Regions from separate parts of the Homo sapiens genome. Here region 2 is linked to region 1. The links are contacts of gene promoters, found by promoter capture Hi-C in blood cells and fetal thymus (Javierre and others, 2016). All regions are on one chromosome and are shown on one strand. Each heading gives the region's core, a stretch centred on a gene start or on the middle of the fragment in contact. The rest is flanking DNA. Distances are from core to core; before and after follow the strand shown. Region 1 holds the start of STK32B (serine/threonine kinase 32B). Region 2 overlaps STK32B (serine/threonine kinase 32B).

What was found. Contacts are between HindIII fragments. The CHiCAGO score rates a contact against its expected background, and 5 or more counts as called.
Region 2: a fragment that was not itself captured here is called in contact with the fragment with the promoter of STK32B in region 1 in 1 of 17 cell types (fetal thymus); the score reaches 6.8 in fetal thymus.

The regions. Positions count from the first base shown.
Region 1 is chr4:5,050,201-5,053,252 of GRCh38, reverse strand. STK32B (serine/threonine kinase 32B) reads right to left here and starts at 1,773. Exons shown (of 12, transcript NM_018401.3): 1 at 1,338-1,773. The coding sequence starts at 1,389. RefSeq lists an enhancer at 533-1,071. The HindIII fragment of the contact is 3,285 bases long and covers 561-3,052 here.
Region 2 is chr4:5,183,416-5,186,553 of GRCh38, reverse strand. The region is part of intron 3 of STK32B (serine/threonine kinase 32B); the gene reads right to left. Among named protein-coding and RNA genes, the nearest start is that of STK32B, 130 kb to the right of the region's middle. The HindIII fragment of the contact is 1,434 bases long and covers 963-2,396 here.

The DNA of each region.
Region 1 (3,052 bases), core at 524-3,023:
TGGTTTCTCAATGCCCTTATCACCATGGACGGTCATTCAGGGCCATTAGACTAGGAACTCCTTTAAGGAAGGCTCTCGTGGGCCTGACACAGCAGGTGCTCACTTAACCTTGACTGTGTTCATCTATCTTTTTGAGAAGGGCTGTCCAGGCAGGCATCTGAGTAGCACTCACAGCCTTGGGAGTTCTAGAAGCCATCCATGATGTACGCACACAGCCAGTGCCCTGGGTAATGATGACAGGCACAGCTTTCAAAGCAGACTGTCCTGCCTCAAGCCCAGCTCTACTTCTTACCAGCAGTAACCAGGACAGACCCCTTTCTAAGGTAGCCACCTCAAGGGGCATGAAAAGGATGGAGTGAACACTATGTGCTAGCATGGCTGGAACATAGTAAGTGCTCAGTATGTCTCAGCTCTTACCTGGGGCACAGTGGAGACTGGCGAGTCAGCACAGTAGGAAACCAGCTTTGAGAGGCAGAGGGCTCTTAACATAAAAAACGGCACAGCTCGGTACTGCTTGCATTTATAAGGCACTTTTCACGTGGATTACTAGTGGTTAAGCTTCAAACAACCCTATAAAGTAGCTAGTGGTATCATAACTCACATTTCATTGATGAAGGGACTAATGTTTCAGAGAGGTGAAGTAAGTTTTCCAGGGACACGCTGCACTGGAAAGAGGGTTCTGCTAGTCCAAATAGGGAGCTCTATCGACCTGAACCGCAAGGATCCAGCCAGGAAGTTGAGATGCGGTTGGACAGCCTACACCACTTCTGCGCCAGGGGGAGGCTGCCCAGAACAGGACGCCCTCCTAGGAACCACAGAGTTTAGCAAAGAAAAGTTTCCCTCTGTCCTGGGTGATTGAGGAGAGCTGCATCCAACAGGCCCTTGCACGAGACCAAATGCGTCGTGGGCACGCGCACACACACACAGACACACGGTGCAACCCGCCCTTCCAGGCCACCTCCGTCAGCCTCAGGCTCTCAAGGAAACCTCGGTTTCCTGGGGAGCCCGAGCCTAGAACCATCCCGACTGGCCTCCGAAGTCAACTCCTCCCTTCCACACCCCCAAGTGCAGGTTTCGGGTTCAACTCTCTGAAGCCGCCTCCCCAGTCCCGCGCTAGGCACCGTCCCGACTACTAAACGGCACTGGGTACCTAGGAGTTGCCTCAGCAGAAGCGCCGCGCCTGGCACGGGTCGGGCACACACTGCATTCGCTGGGCGAAGTGGCCATGCCTGGGTCCCCGCGCCGGGCAGCATGCGGTGCCCCGCAGGGCTCGGCCGAGGGTGGTGGAGGAAGGGGATGCCCCGCGAAGCGGGAATTCGCACCTCTCGCTCTCTTACCTTCCTCATTCTCGTCAAACACGGGGGGCTTGTGGGAGTGGTTCCCGCCCATATTCCGCCGTTGCTGCCGCTGCTACATGCCCGGCCGCTGGGATGCCGGATGCGGGATGTGGGACGCGCGCAGAGATGCGGGATGCCGGGGGCGCGCCCAGTCCGGGTTGTAGCCGCGCGCGGAGCCCGAGGGGGCCGAGCACCGTGCAGGGGCGGGGACGGCGTCCCCCTTCTCCTGGACGCCCTTCCGACTGCGCTCGCAGGGACCCCGCTCTCGCCGCGCCTTCCGCCGTGCCCCGCCTCGGGCTGCGCTCGCAGCTCCTTACTCCAGTGCCCGCCCGGGAACCCGGGAGCTCCTCGCGCCGGGGCCAACGTGCGGCGCTCCTCGCCGGCTACAGCGGGCGGGAGACGCGAGGCGGCGCGGGAGCAGGGGAAGGAGGGGAAGGAGCGGGGGAGGAGGGGACGGACGAAGGCAGCACGCAGTGGGCGGCGGCAGGGCGGAAGGAGCTGAGAAAGGGATCGGCCCGGAAGAATCTGAATCCCTGCTCGGCCCTCCTCCCTCGGCCGGGAGCTCGGTCCCTGCAGGCAGTAAGCGGTTTGTCAGCACCCACTATGGCCAGGCCTCGGCTACGCGCTTTGTTAGCACCATCCCACATCCGCCTCCGACAACCCAGCAGTAAGAAAGCATCGTTCATATTTTAGAGCGCAGTAGACGGAGGTCTAGAGGTAGAGGGGCTCTTAGGTCTGTGGTTAGTCGGCCCCGGCTGCGAAGGGAGTCCCAGGACTCCCCGCTAGCCTGTATTTGCCCATTCATATTGGGATGGGCAGTGGAGTGTCTGCTGGCTCTCCAACCGACGCTGTTCCTCTTAAGGTTTTTCTCAGTGTTTAATGAATGAAAGTATCTGTTTACTTTCTGACCCCTTAAGATTAGATACTAATCTGACCCCTTCATTGTACATGGGGAAACTGAGGCCCCAGACAGCCATAGTTTGCCCCAAACCATTCTCCCTGGGAATGGCTGGGCATGAGTCTCGGGATTCCCCCAAAATTGGGCGGCATCGGCGTCCGATTTAGGGGCGAGGCTAGCATGAGGGTCCCTGGGCTCCTGCGGCGGGAGCCTGGATCGGGAGATACGCGCCACAGTTGCGGGTGCCTAAGTAAGGGGTGCGGCAGATGCGCCCCAAGACGTGTGGGGCGAGCGCGGGTTCCCAGGACGCTCCCTGAGGGACAGGCAGGTCCCCCTGCCTTGCAGTCCTGCGGGCCCAGCTCTCCGGGACTGCAGGGAATCTTTGGCTACATCCTGCCATCTGCTGGGCGCCTGGAACCACTGTCCGTGCTTTGATAGAAAGCAGGGGTTCTTTGTGACTCTCTCCATCCTATCTCGTCCCCCAGTCCCCGTCCCCTACCTGGTCTCTCTCTCCAGTTCTCTCCCCTTCTTTCTTTTTCTTGGGAGAAGGGTGAGGGAAGCCGGGGAGACTCATACAGAAACAAAACAAAACAAAACAAAACAAAAAATCTCTTAAAGGCAGTGGGAAAGAACTGAGAAGGTCTGAGGCAGGCCCACCCACCATGACCCAGAGCTGGCTCTACCATTTACTGGCAATGTGTCCCACTTTGGAGTTCTTATCTGCAAAGTGGGCTGATTGATATTAACTCCTTGGGTTGTCTGTGAGAATTATATCAGGTAATATTTATAAAAGCAGGCAACAGTGCCCGGCATATAA
Region 2 (3,138 bases), core at 430-2,929, 130 kb before region 1:
CACGATAACCATCCCAGATGGAGGGAAGAGAGCAAGCGAGATAAGCGACTGCTGGTTAGCATCTGTCTTCTCTCACCTGTAAGACAGGGAGGAACTGTCTTCCTCACAGTTCTGCCACCAGGGTCTAGCACAGCATTTGGCATGTCAGGGGCCCTTAACAGCACTACATAAATTAATCTACTGAACGTCAGATGCTAGGGAGACAGAGATGAATAAGGTATGGTCCCCTTCCTCAAGCGGCCCACTGCTCACGGAGGAAACACACACCCCAGCAGATAACCGTGACAGAGCTGCCTTTATGCCATAACAGGATCTGCGAGAAAGCACCACTGTCTGGGGCTGGTGTCCCGAGGAGGGCTGATGGAGGAGGTGAGGCCTGGACTATGAACTCCAAGAGGACAGGAGCCATACTGACTGTCTTCACCACTGCACCCTTAGAAATTGGAACAGTGCCTGGTACCCAATAAGAGCCCAGTGAATAGCGACTTAATGAATGAATTCCTGTGGAGGATGAGCAGGAGTTCTCGCAGTGACCGAAGAACAGACGGTGTTCCAGGCAGAGGGCACAGCCTGAGCAGAGGCCTGGAGAGATGAGAACAGTAGGATGTATGACAGATCACCCACAAACCAGTTAGTATGGACGAGAACAAAAATGGCCCAAGATGGTAGTAGGGGTGGGTGTCAGGGGATGAGACTGTACATAGTGTTACAGGCTAGATCACAGAAAGACGTTCATTCTGAGGGCTTCGGGAGCCATTGTGGTATTTTATGCAGAGGCGTGGTAGGCACAGACTTACGCTTTGATAAGACCTGTCCTGTGAAGGGCACGTGGGTGATGGGTAACTGGCTGGGCATTGAAACAGTAGTTAGGAGCCTATAGCAACAGTTCAGGCTAGGGACAATTGCTTCTGTGGAAATGACACTGCTCAGCATCTAGCAATTGTTTATAAGGCTGAGAAGCTTTGTCAAAGGTTTCCCTGATGCCTTCCAGTCTCTGTCCTCCCCCACGTCCCTTTCCCTGCCCTCCACTACTTCAGCCAGATCGGCTCTGCCTTCAAATACTTAATATAGTTTTATTTTAATCAAAGCTCTCAACACTTAAAATGTAGCCTCTGATTTAAGTGATTGTTTCTTGGCTTAGACTGGCAGGTAGATATCCGTGTACTGACTCAGTCCATTGCAACTCAAAAATGATTCTAGAAACCTACATTGCCCTGAGAGCCATTTAAACTAACTTCTGACATCTGTTCTCATCCTGAGAATGTTCATTCATTCTCTCGGTTGTTTAGGCAATAGACAGGGACAGATGCCTCCCTCCTCCGGTTTTAAACAAAACAGATTAACAGTGAGTCTAGTAAATACAGCCAATTAGGTAAGTAGAAATGGATTTTGAAAATGCAGTCCGAACACATGAATGAACTACTGACCCATTAACATTCAATCAGGATAACAGTCTAATGCTAAAAACGCAAGACACATTTTCCAAAAGGCCGTGTCCTCACGTCTGACGCTGGAGGAGAAGGAGAGAACACGTAGTCACACGGAAACAGGGAGCAACCTCACCTCAGGTGCTCAACCAGCCAGAGGCCAGCCTCAAAGGACAAGTGCTAACACAGGCACGCCTCATTTTCCTGTGCTTCTCTTGACAGCACTTAGCAGATCCTGCATATTTCACAAAGTGGAGGTGCACGGCAACCCTGCATCAAGCACATCCATCGGTGCCATGTTTTCCAACAGCATGTGCTCACTTTGTGTCTCTGTCACATTTTGATAATTCTTGGAATATTTCAACTTTTTTCATTATTATGGTATTTGTTATGGCAGTGATCTTTGTTTTCTTTTTCTTCTTCTTCTTCTTTTTTTTTTTTTGAGACAGTCTCGCTCTGTCACCAGGCTGGAATGCAGTGGTGCGATCTCAGCTCACTGCAACCTCTGCCTCCCGGGTTCAAGCAATTCTCCTGCCTCAGCCTCCCAAGTAGCTGGGATTACAGGCATGCACCACCACGCCCAGCTAACTTTTGTATTTTTGGTAGAGACAGGGTTTCACCATGTTGGCCAGACTGGTTTGGAACTCCTGACCTCAAGGGATCCACCTGCCTCAGCCTCCCAAAGTGATCAATAATCTTTGATATTACTACTACAATTGTTTTGGGGCATCATGAGCTGCACCCATATAAGAAGGTAAATGTAATCAATAAATGTTGTGCATGTTCTGAATGCTCCATCGCTGGTTGTTCCCCTACCTCACTCCCTCCCCTTGGGTCTCCCTATTCCCTGAGACACAACAATACTGAAATTAGGCCAAGCAATAACACTACAATGGCCTCTGAGTGCTCAAGTGAAAGGAAGATTCCTATGTCTCTCAATTTAAATCAAAAGCCAGAAATAATTAAGCTTAGTGAGGAAGGCATGTGAAAAGCCAAAATAGGTTAAAAGCTGGGGTTCTTTTGCCGAGCAGTTAGCCAAGTTCTGAATGCAGAGAAAAAGTTACTGAAGGAACTTAAAAGTGCTACTCCAGTGAACATAACAATGATAAAGAAGAGAAACTGCCTAACTGCTGATACGGAGAAAGTTTGAGTGGTCTGGATAGAAAATCAAACTCGCCACAACATCCCCTTAAGCCAAAGCCTAATCCAGAGCAAGTTCCCAACTCTCTTCAATTTTATGAAGGCTGAAAGAGGTGAGGAAGCTGCAGAAGAAAAGCTGAAAGGTAGCAGAGGTTGGTTCAGGAGGTTTAAAGGGGAAAAAAGCTGTTTCCAGGACATAAAAATGCAAAGTGAAGCAGAAAGTGTGATGGAGAAGCTGTAGCAAGTTACTTAGAATATCTTGCTACGGTCATTGACAAAGGTGGCTACACCAAACAACAGATTTTTCAATTAAACAAAACAGCCTTACACTTAAATAAGGAGGCGAACTTAATAAATGTTGTGTGTGTTCTGAATGCTCCACTCACTGGCCATCCCCCATCTCACTTCGTACAAGTATTGGAGGTAGATGCCATCTAGGACTTTAACATCTAGAAAGAATTCAATGGCCGGTTTTATTTTATTTTTTAATTTAATTTTTTTTTTTTTTTGAGATGGAGTTTTGCTCTTTTTGCCCAGGCTGGAGTGCAGTGGTGCAATCTCAGCTCACTGC